2 separate regions of the Homo sapiens genome follow, and region 2 is linked to region 1. The links are contacts of gene promoters, found by promoter capture Hi-C in blood cells and fetal thymus (Javierre and others, 2016). All regions are on one chromosome and are shown on one strand. The core of a region is centred on a gene start or on the middle of the fragment in contact, and the rest is flanking DNA. Distances in the headings are between cores, read along the strand shown. Region 1 holds the start of PXDNL (peroxidasin like). Region 2 overlaps ST18 (ST18 C2H2C-type zinc finger transcription factor).

Region 1 (6,208 bases), core at 171-2,670:
CTCCTGAACTTACATATTTCTGAGTCCCTACCCTTTTTAAGTCTACTTTATGAATGCAAGATATTTTTATATTTTTGTATTTTATATATTTTATATTATTTATATTTTTTGTATTTTATATTTTGAACTGCAAACAAGGCACAAACCTGCAGGTCTTGTCTATGTCCTCCAAATCACAGGCACTGCCAAGAGCATAGTGATTGTTGGGATTTAAAGGAATAAATTTCGTTTTTTGGCTTTATTGGTATACTTGGACAATAAAAGTCATGTGAACAATGTCAAATGTAAAGTTTAAAATAAATCATTCTTGTTCATGGAGATTAGTTTTGTTTTTTAGATCTTTTTACATTTTAATCTCCCCAAAATCACATATTTAGATATGAACATTTTGCCAAAAGAGGGCAGTATTCGCCTACAGTAGAATGTAAAGGGACTGAAACATTTCTGCAGAGACAAGGATGAACTTATTTTCCTCTTAAGATTGGTCTACTAGTCTGATCATCTGGGATTGACCATGCAAGTTTTAATTTGTTTTCTATTACTTTTATGGATTTAAAACATTTTTGTTTGAAAATGTTAGTCTTTAAAGATAAAGCCAAAAATCTGTTTAAAAATACCTGCTTACAGAATGACCAAAAAGTAGATGTTTTCATATTTATTAAGTTTTCAGACACGTCCTCAACGAGGTGCTGCTCACTTCAGGGAAAGATGGCCAGTTCAAACTGCTGATGAAAAGTCTGCAACCAGCAAGACCACTGCTGCCAGTGTGTCCTGAGGGAGCTTGCATCTGTTTGACTTTACATATACATACTTAGGTTTGTCCATCAGTTGTATCCTCTTGAAGGAGGTATGTGAGTTCATGGTTTTAAGCATATAAATTTAAACGTTAAAAGAAGAAATCAGAAGTAGCCCGTTTGAGTCTTACATGAGTGAAATGTGTTGGGTTTCAGCAGCAGAATATATAGAAGGAAATGAAACAATTTTTATTAAAGAGCATAGTTTGGAATAAAGAAAGAATATGTGCACCTAGATGAACGAATTAGAACTCTGCCTGCCCTTTAGGGTTTGGTAATGTTACCAGATAAAAAAGAAGAAAAGCTGTTCTGCATTGTTTCAATACATTCTTAATCAACTTGGGCTTCAAGAGGACAGCTGGAGGCTAAGAGGTCGGGTTTTTCATCAAATGCGCAGTGGAAGTAATTTTGGAAAAGTTTGTTTGCATTATGCTGCCTAAAACACGGTGTTTTAGAAAGAGGCTTTTGCATTGAAAAGCTTCTCGTCCTCGCCTCTGGGAGTCTAGTGCTTCCTAGAGCTGCTTGTGCCCTCAGCCCTGTAATGTGATATCCCTCCTCCTGGATTGGTCAGAGGGGTGTCCTTTCCCTGGGAGCTGCTTTCCACCACGGCTCCCAAACTTGGCTCAGTCCAGCAGCCACCATCACCACCACTGCGGTTGCTGCTGCAGCTGCAGCTGCTGCTCTCCCTCCGGCTGCTTCTTCGCGTGGCCAGCAGCGAATGGAGCGATGGAGCCCAGACTGTTCTGCTGGACCACTCTCTTTCTCCTGGCCGGGTGGTGCCTGCCAGGGTTGCCCTGCCCCAGCCGGTGCCTTTGCTTTAAGAGCACCGTCCGCTGCATGCACTTGATGCTGGACCACATTCCTCAGGTACCACAGCAGACCACAGTTCTGTAAGTTCACATAAATTCCCCAGAAACCCTCTTCCCCAATGCTTCATTGCTTCTCTGCTAGGACCTGTGTCCTTTTAATTTACGATTCCTAATGCTCTCCCTGCTTGTATACTTAGAAGAGGCTTTTCACTTTTCAAACAATTTCATGGTTCTGCTCTGTTAGACTAGAAAATGTAAGCAATGATGAGTTGACATAAATATATTTGTTTTGGATTCAGTTCTCTTCCAGCATCTTCCAGAACTTAGCATTGAGAATTCTCGTCTTCATTCTTCCTTCAATAATTTTCCTGCATACTTTCTCAATTTATTCCTATTCATCCTCTACTCCCAAGTCTTTGGGCCTCTTAATTGGTCAGCACGTGTCTGCCCCATTTGGAAGGAACTAATTTAACTTTAGAGTGTGGTTTCAATTGATTATGTGCTGACAAATTGTTAGGCTTTGTACTGTGTGTACCTCCTGGGAGGGTGAAGTCCTGAGCCCTCAGCACTTGAAGCACTGTCTGTCTCCAGAACAGACCCTCAAATGGTCCAGTAGAGTTCTTGAATGCTTAAAAGCCTTGTGGAGCAGCCGCTTAGACTAATCGGCATCTAGGAGGCATTACGGGATAGTAGGGCAAACCAGAATTTGGAAGTCAAACAGGTCTGAGTTCAAATCCTATCTTCTCATCTTTAATATTCAGATAATAAACCCAAACATTTAGATTTATTTAGATTAAATTAAGTCATAATTAGATAATTAGAAGGGCAAATCACCACAAAAGAAGAAAAGGATCTGTTTCTAGGGTCTATTTTTAAAGAAAGAAAAAGACGACAAATTCAAAAATTTAAGAAAAAATAAAAGAAGAAAAGGAAAAATGCTGAAAGATGCAGACTAAAGAGGTTTCCTGCTCTATAATAAATATTTTGTGGGTTGTGTCATGTTCATGGAAGACAAAACTGCTTGCAGTGTTTCAAGTCCATTCTTGGGCAGAGGGAAATAGCTTAAAATTCCTGGAATTTTGAGATATAAATGTTTAAGAGGATCATTGCCACACATTTGTCAGTCATAATCGTGAAATGAGGACTTGGTAATAAAAAGTCCAATTTGATGGTATTTACATAGAAAATGACATATTATCCATAGATTTTCATTTCTATAAAGCATTTCATTAATTTTATATGCATGCAGATATCAAAATACGTCTTACTGTAATAACTGAAAGGATTCTTGAACTTGGGAGCACTGCTTATTGCTATGTGGACAGCACAGTTCTGCAAGTGCCTTCAGACTCAGAACCAGCCATTTGTCCTTTTGTAATGACAGTTTTTTGGTAGATAGCAGCAAAGCCTTGGAGAAGGGGCTGCTTGTCTAATGAAGTATCTTGGAGCTACATGAGGTACAACTCGACCTAAATTTTGTTTCCTAGGTGTTTCAAAGAAGAGATTAGCTTGCATTAGACACACACCTCTAAATGTAATGAGCAGAACTGAAGTGATGTTGTCAGTGTTGTCATGCAGAGCCTTCCACTATGTTTAAAAATAAAGCTTAATGGTGGATTCTCAGGCCCTTGGCTAGATTCCTGTCTGGGAGTCTGGTGCCACCACTTACAAAATGTGTTGCCTTGGACAAATTCTTAACTTCTTGGTGTCACAGTTTCCTAATCTGTAAAAATGGAGATGCTAACAGTGTTTGATATGGTTTGGATCTGTGTCCCCACCCAAATCTCATGTTCAATTGTAACTCCCAATGTTGGAGGTGGGGTGCAGTGGGAGGTGATTGGATAGTGGGGGCGGATTCTCATGGTTTAACACCACCTCCCTTGGTGTTGTCATGGCGAGAGTGAGGTATCACAAGATCAGGTTGTTTAAAAGTATATAGCTCTTCTTGCGTCTCTCTTCCTCTTGCTCTGGCCATGTGAAGTTCTCACTCCCCCTTTGCCTTCTGCGATGATTGTAAGTTTCCTGAGGCCTCCCCAGAAGCCAAGCAAAAGTTGCTGTACTTCTTGTACAGCCTGCAGAACCATGAACCAATTAAACCTCTTTTCTTTGTAAATTACCCAGTTTCAGGTATTTCTTTATCACAGTGTGTGAAAACAGACTGATGCACTCTTCACCCTATTGGTTATCTTGAAGATTTAATGAATTAATGCATTTTAAGTACCTAGAAAATTGCTTAGCTCTAGTAAACACTATGGAAGTTTTCACTATTAGTATCATGTTTGCAATTCAGGACAGGAATTACAAACCTAAATATCTCTGGGAACCTGCCAGTAAACAATTTGAGGGAAGTGGGGTAGATGAAAGGCAGACTACTGTGTGATGAATAGCAACTAGCCTGAAGCTTGGAGTGTGTGGGGATGGTAATGAAGGCAGAGGCAGCTCTTGCTAATGGGGCAGCCAGTTACTTAGCTAATTGATGGCCTTTGGGGATTTGGGCCATAGTTTCAAGAAAATATGGAAGCCAAAAGTGACATTCCCTAGCTTTTCAATATTAGCAGCTAATTACATTTTTAGAAATGGAAAGGCAAAAATATACAAGCCCAACCATGCATATTTGTAGGTTGCTTTTTGCCTAGGACCTTCAGTTTGTGACTTCTAGTAGAGAAATGGTATAAAAGCTGAGAAGTATATGTAAAGCCTGTAAAAATTGCTCCTCTACTCCTCTGGGGCTAAAAATCCTTGATGTAGGATTGCATTTTATGTCAGCAATATCATGAAAGATGACAATAACAATTATGGGAAAAAGCCAATTAGTTTTTGAAAACTAAGGCAAATGGAAGCTGAATGAATTTCTCCCCAGCAGCAGAACCAATAGTTTTTGTTAAACCGCCCTTATGTATGTTTATTGTCATTATAACATGGAAATGATGTAAATAATATATTTAGCTCTGCAAATGGCCAACATGCTTAGTAAATGCTTATTAGTAGTAGTGTTAAAATTTCCTTAATTTTTTCCATTTTTACATGTTTTAAAATTTTAGCCTGAATGCAGAAAATATTTTCCTAAATCATAGATAAGAAAACTGTATTATTTTTAAGATTGGTTACAGTTGATCAGGGTTTTAAGTTTAGAAAAATGCAAAACTGTCCCTCCAAATTTTAATTTCATTCTGACTATAAAGATATTGTGTTTCTAAACTAATATCATTTACCAAAAAGCCTGCTGCCATTGAGAAAATCTCACTCTTTGTGCCGTGGATTTTAGTAAAACAAATCTTTCAGAATTAGAATTTGCAAACAAAAAAATGTCCAGTAATGAACACAGCATCTTTAGGGAGCCTGTTCAGTAATCAGAAGCAGTGTATGGTGAGTGTGATTTGACTCCATCCTATTCCAGGGTCATTAGGTTGTACTTTCCTAATTTCCTTAGTTACTGGTTAAGAAATGGACTCAGTGACTGCAAATTGAACATGCTCTAAAAACCACCTTGATTAGAAAAAGTTTTAAGCTTAGGGCTGTTTTAATGATCGAGGATTTTCCTAAAAGTCATAAATACAAAAGTATTTACAATGTGAAATTCTAAACATTTAATTTAAAGACATTTTCTTTATGTGGAAAGCTTTCTTTGCTGTCCAAATAATAGAAAACTTGAGGAACAAGATGGGGGTGGGGAAATGGAAAATGTCTTATGCTCAGTCATGAAAAAGTGTGTCCAGCTGATAAAAAATTTCACCTTGTTCAAGAAGAAAATAGAATTCCTTCAGCTCTTCCAATTTCCATTCATTTTATATATATATAATATATATATCATTTTGTATATATACATAAAATGATGTGTTATGGAATAATAGGGAGTAGCTGCAATCTGAGGCAGCAAACATAATTTTATAATTTAAATTATATATAAAGTTTTATATATAAAATTGTATAATTTAAAATATATATATGTATATATAAAATACAACTTAATAGGGCTTACTTTTACCTTTGTTACAAAATTTTTTGTAGCTTGTTTGTAACCGACATAACTTACTGGCTTTGAATGACCACTTGGCAGTAATGAACAGGCCTGAACTTTTTGGACCTTCCCCCACCTGGCATTGTTGAGGGGAAGCACAGTGGGACCCAGATGAAGTGTGTCAACATTCAAACTTCCCCCAGTGGTTGACTTGTTGGGGAGAGAAATGAAACTGAAAGTGGGCTGTCACTGACCTCCTGACTCAGGCCAGTGTGGTTCTGTGGAGAGGGGCTGGAAGAGGCTGTTCTGGAAGGAAGGGCAGGTGAGTGTGGATGGAGCCCAAGCAGGAGAATGGACATAGGGACAATGTGGAGGTGACAGCTTGAGGAGGTAGAGGAGTAAAGGCCAGCACCACTGGCTGGGGTATAATGTACCCTGGAGACTTGGGAGTCATCCTTCAAGAAACAAATGGACAGACAAATTGTTTTAGAAGGTCAGTGGAGCCAGGATATCCTACAACAGCCTGTACTTAGATGGTATATGCTGATTAAAGTATTAGAACAGTGTTCCCTACACTAAGTGCTGCCTTTCAACCCTACTGTAGATTCTATAAATGAAGTGAAGGGATGTGTTATGGAATAGTAGCT
Region 2 (5,759 bases), core at 1,313-3,812, 590 kb before region 1:
TGGACTTATTTTGATAATTTATAATCTGTGTATTCAGAGCATTGATGTTATAGTTTTGATACCTAAATCACCGTTTTAAAAATTCAAAGAGATATATGAATCCTGAGTCTCGGACAGTTATTCCTGAGCCAAAGGATTTCTGTGCAATGCTAATATGTATAATAGAGAATCAGTCTTTCACTGTACAGTTTTGTCATCATGTTTCAATAACTGAATGAATATTCTGAATTAATAAGCATAACGTTTGTATAAGCTAAAGACTAATCTAAGCTCTGCATTCATTGATGGGAACCTTAAGCAAATGTTTCTTTTCATCAGCTTGTTCAAAAGGCATAAACATAATTACAGTTCTGAGGCGATAACATATCGACTGGTTAAATAGTAAGTGGGTCTGGACAAGGTAACTTAAAGTTATGGGCTGCACGTTGTTTTGAGTACTTGGAAGCATCTGGAAAAAATAATTTTTTTAAAAAGATATTTTTACTGTTTATCTTATAGAAAAACAGTATGAGCATTAAACCCCCACTAGAATTTTGGAGGTTTTCTTTTTCTAAAGCGTTGGTTAAAATTCAGATAAGTTGATACTTACAGCTTGAGAGAAAAGATGGGGAAGTGGTAGAAATATCAAATCATGAGTTAGTTTTAAATTTCTCAGAATGCTCAGGGGGCAGTGAGGGAAAGAGGGACTTGCTGGCCATGTCCCCACACCTCCGCTTTGCACCTTTTGCTGAAGTTAGTTCCCGAAAACAGTGCTGGGTGTTTGGGTTACATCTGGTTCAGCCTTCTTTTCCTCCTTCCTTCTTTATCCGTCACATGGCCTGCCCTCTATCTCTTAAATCTTAGGTCTGTTGTGAGACTGGGGAAGGAGTGATGTGAACATGTGCTCCTGGGCCTGGAAATGCCCCTCTGCCCCGACTCCTTCTGTCTCAGCAGTGCTTGTCATTAATTCTCCCAACAAATACCTGAGCCCTTCTCTGTGCAGGATGGGTCTCAGTGCTTTGAATGTGCTGTCTCGTTTAATTCTCTCAAAAGCCCTTTATTGACAATGCTCTTATAATATTTTATACAGAAAGAATGGAAAGCTAATCCAATCTTTTTCTAATGTGGTTAATCAAATTTATTTATTTTTAATTAATGGTGGCTTAGAAAGCTTTCTTTCAGCATTACTATCCTTTATGAGATTGTCATAAATGTTTACTATTTTTCATTGTTCATGGCAAGGCGGCAATAGATCTTATTCAGAATTGATAATCAGTGTGATTTATCTGGTAGCCAAACCAAAAATCAAACTATTATGCTGTTTAGATATAATGGTAGCCACTAGAAGATTTACATCAAATGTTAGACCAGAAGCCCTTTCCATCAGTGACCAGGTTTGGTATCTGCTAGGAGGGAAAAGCCTGGTAACTGATCACCAGTGTTTCTGTTCTTTTTACTTTATAGTTTGTAATTTACCAAGGCATGATTAATTTTGCTGATGTTTAAGTTACTTACAATCATATTAAGAGTTAGAGAGGAGTGATATCAGCAAGATGGCTGACTAAAAGTGCCCAACACCCATTTCCTGGACTACCCCCACAAAAAATGAATAAACAATGAATAAACAACTACATTTTGACCACAGTGGCTGAAGAAGAGTGCGGGAGTACAGCAGGAGTGGCAGAAATCCAGTGGAGCACAAACACTAAGTATGGGCTCATACAGAAGAGGAGGAATCATGCCACACCCTTGCCACCCCACCTGTGCCACCCCATTCTCTTATTCAGCTCAGAACCAGGAAGGACTCCTTCCTGGGGGGAAAAGGTAAGCAGGAGGTACCCAGCAGCCCCTATTACCATTGTGGACACCAGCAGTCTTCACCACTGGAGAATTCTACAGTCCTCAAGGTCCCTGAGCTCAGCTTGGGGAGCTGCCTGGAGTTCACATAGCTGCACTGCTCCAAAGAAGGAGCCCACATTGTGCCTCAACTCTTGTAGGCCAAGCTGCTACTGCACTGTGCCATCTGGAAACCAGAGCCACTGCTAGAGTGTGTCCTGCTTGGGGGTCCAGTAGCCACTGTATCTGTTTATCCCTGAGGCCTGGCCACCATTGCACCATGCTTTCAAACATGGTAGTGCAACATTCCCCAACTGAGCTGCAGCAACTCCATACCCCCTGGGAACAAGCTACCTAGAAGCCACCCCATTTCCCCCATCCAAGTTGCTACTGTGCCCCAGCCCCAGCTACTTGGACCCAAGGCCCAGTGGAGCAGGCATGCACTTCAGTGCCTGAACCAGCCCAATGTCCCACCCCCAGGAAGTTGGAACTTTGGTCTAGGGGAGCAGTTACATCCCTGGTATCCAAGCCCTTATGGCAGTGTGCTCTTCAGGTTCCTGGATCCCAGCCCAGCAGAGCAGCCACACCCCATAGTGCTGAGCTGATGTGGTATACTGGCCCCCAGAGAAACAGCCTTGGCTGAGCTGTGCTGCCCCACCCCTGGGCTGAACAGCTGCCGTGCCCCACCTTCCTGGGTCTGGGCCAGCCCTCTGGAGTCTGAATTGACTCCAGAAGTGGCACCTGCTTCCCAGAGCCCAAGCAGTAACTGTGCTCCACTGTTCTTGGGTCCTTGCTGCCACTGCACCTGGCGTCACAGAGACTGACCTACTGCTGTATCCCACTGCTCTGGGACCATAGTCATCACTATGCAGTACCCCCACTTCTGATGCCTGAGTTGCCACTGTGCCCTATTGGTTCTAAGACCTGAATTGCAGCTGTCGCCTGCTCTCTGGGGACTGAGCGTCTAGAACACCCCTTCTTCCCTGGAGCCATGTCAATGCTGTGCCCTGATCTCCAGGATTAGAGTCACAGCTACATCCTTGAACCCTGGGCCCAAGCTACTGGGAAATGCCTTAGAGTCACAGTCCTTGGCTTGGTGGGAGACCTGCATCCACCTGTGCCTCAGAGAATGGACCTGTGCCCACATCACAGGTGCCACAGTAGTTCAACAAGACACTGAGCCCAGGACCCCAGTTCTACAGCCATTCCAATCACATGTGCCCTTGAACACAGTGATGCTATGGCTGCCTGTGGCCCATGTCACACCTGATAATAACAGGGATCCCCTCAGCTAAGTGTGCCCACTGTGGGGAAAATGACAACAGGAGAACCCCTAATGCCCTTGCTGCCAAGAACCCTAACAAACTACCATGCCACCACCACTGCCACAAACTCCTACAGCCGAAGACACTGAGGTACTTGCAGTCATTGCTGATATTAATCACAGCTGAAGAAGCTGCACAGAGACTACATTACTGCACCCACTCAGAAGCAGAGCCAAGTACTCTGCTGACCTGACACTCTAGGACTCATCTACAGGCGAAAGTCTTTCCCTATGAAAGCCCTCTATAAAATTAGAAGAGGCAACTGTTCCACTGGATGCACAGGCATCAACATAGGGACATAAGAAATATGAAAAAGCAAGGAAACATGACACCACAAAAGGAAGACCATAATTCCCTAGTAACTGGCCACAAAGAAATTGAAATTGCTTAAAAAGGAATTAAACCTAATAATTTTAAGGAAACAAGAGAATACAGATAGACAATGCAACAAAATTAGGAAAACAATTCATGATCTGAATGAGAAAGTCCACAAAGAGATAGCTATCATAAAAACTAACCAAACAGAAATCTTATAGCTGAATAACTCCATGAATAAAATTTTAAAATTGACAGCTTCAACAGCAGACTAGATCAAGCAGAAGAAAGAATCTCTGAACTTGAAAAGAAGTCTTTTGAAATAACCTAGTCAGGAGGAAAAAAGAGTGAGGAAAGCCTATGGGATTTATAAGACACTCATTAAGTGACAAAATATTTAAATATGGGGTTGTTAGAGGGAGAAGAAGGGGAAAGGCATGGAAAACTTATTTAACAAATGAGTTGCTGAAAAATTCTCAAGTCTTGGGAGAAAATGGACATGCAGATTTATGAAGCTTAATGATCTCCAAACAGGTTCAACCCAAAGAGGGCCCCACCAAGTCATATTACAATAAAAATGTCAGAAATCAAAGACACAGAGAGAATTTAAAAAGCAGCAAGAGAAAAATGTCAAATGACATATCAGGAAATCTCCATTAGACTGTCAGCAGATTTATCAGCAGAAACCTTGCAAGCCAGAAGAGAAGGGAGAAATATACTTAAAAGTGCTGAAAGAAAAAAAACCTGTCAGCCAAGAATATTACACTTAGTAGTGCTGACTTTCAAAAATAAAGGAGAAATAAAGTCTTTGCCAGAGAAGCAAAAGCTAAGAAAATTTATCACTACTAGACCTGCCTTATAAGAAATATTTAGGGGAATTGTTTAACCAGAAACAAAAGGATGATGATTACTATCATGAAAACATATGACAATATAAAACTCGCCAGTAGAGGTACATTTATTGTCAAATTCAGAATATGTAATTACTGTAGTGGTGGCGTGTAAATCTTTCAACTCTCTAGTATGAAGGTTAAACATCAAAATGGTCAAAAATAACTGTGGCTACATTAAGTTGCTAAGAAATATGCGATATAAAAATATGTAAATTGTGACAACAAAAACATAAATTGTGGATGACAGGGGAGAGGTTAAAAGTCTAGAGTATTTTTATGTGATCAAAGTTAAGTAGTTATCATCTTATAATAATCAATTATAACTATAAGATGTTTTATGTAAGCCCCATGGTACACAAAGCAAAAAACTATAACAAATACACAAATAAGGAAGAAAAGGGAATCAAAGCTTAGCACTACAGAAAATCAACAAATCACAAAGGCAGACAACAAAAGAGGAAGAAAGGAAAAAGAATCTACAAAACAACCGAAAACAATTAACAAAATGGCAAGAGTTAAGTCAATACCTATCAATAGTAACTATTATCAATAATAACTGAATGTAAATGGATTAAACTTTCCAATCAAAAGGCAGAGGGTGTCTAAATGAATAAAAACCCAACATCCAACTTTATGCTGCCTACAAGAGACCCATTGTAGCTTTAGGGACATACACAGGCTGAAAGTGAAGGGAGTGAAAAAAGATATTCCATGCAAATAGTAACTGAAAGAGCAGAGATGGCTGTTTATAGCAGATAAATAGACTTCAAGTTAAAAACTGTTGTAAGAGCAAAGAAGGTCATTATGTAATGGTAAAAGGGCTAACCTATTAAGAAGACAAAACAATTGGAAATATATATGCACCCAGCATTGGAATACCTAAGTATATAAAGCAAATATTGATGGACATGAATGAAGAACTAGATAGCAATACAATAATAGCTGGGGACTTCAACACCCCCCTTTCATCAATGGATAGATCAATCAGACATAAAATTAATAAGGAAACACTGGATTTGAGCTTCACTTTAGGCCAAATGGACCTAACAGACATATATGGAACTTTCAATCTAATAGCAGCAGAATAAACATTCTTTTCTAGTGCACATAGAACATTCTTCAGGAAAGCCCCTATGTCAGTCCCATAGAAGATTGAAATTATATGTACCATTTTTTTCCAACCACAACAGTATGAAACTAGAAGTCGACAACAGGAGGAATCTTGAAAAATTCGCAAATATGTGGAGATTAAACATGTTCCTGAGCAACAAATGGGTTAAAGAAGAAGTCAAAAGGAAATTTAAAAATATCTGGAGAAAAATGACAATGGAAACATAACCTACGAAAACCTATGAACTGCAACAACAATAGTACTAAGAGGCAAGTTTATAGCAATACATGCCTACATTAA

What was found. Contacts are between HindIII fragments. The CHiCAGO score rates a contact against its expected background, and 5 or more counts as called.
Region 2: a fragment that was not itself captured here is called in contact with the fragment with the promoter of PXDNL in region 1 in 1 of 17 cell types (fetal thymus); the score reaches 5.5 in fetal thymus.

What each region holds. Positions count from the first base shown.
Region 1 is chr8:51,804,657-51,810,864 of GRCh38, reverse strand. It overlaps PXDNL (peroxidasin like), which reads left to right and starts at 1,420. Exons shown (of 23, transcript NM_144651.5): 1 at 1,420-1,684. The coding sequence starts at 1,521. RefSeq lists enhancers at 1,003-1,524, 1,525-2,047. The HindIII fragment of the contact is 1,936 bases long and covers 1,275-3,210 here.
Region 2 is chr8:52,399,552-52,405,310 of GRCh38, reverse strand. The region is part of intron 2 of ST18 (ST18 C2H2C-type zinc finger transcription factor); the gene reads left to right. Among named protein-coding and RNA genes, the nearest start is that of ST18, 7.3 kb to the left of the region's middle. The HindIII fragment of the contact is 2,820 bases long and covers 1,153-3,972 here.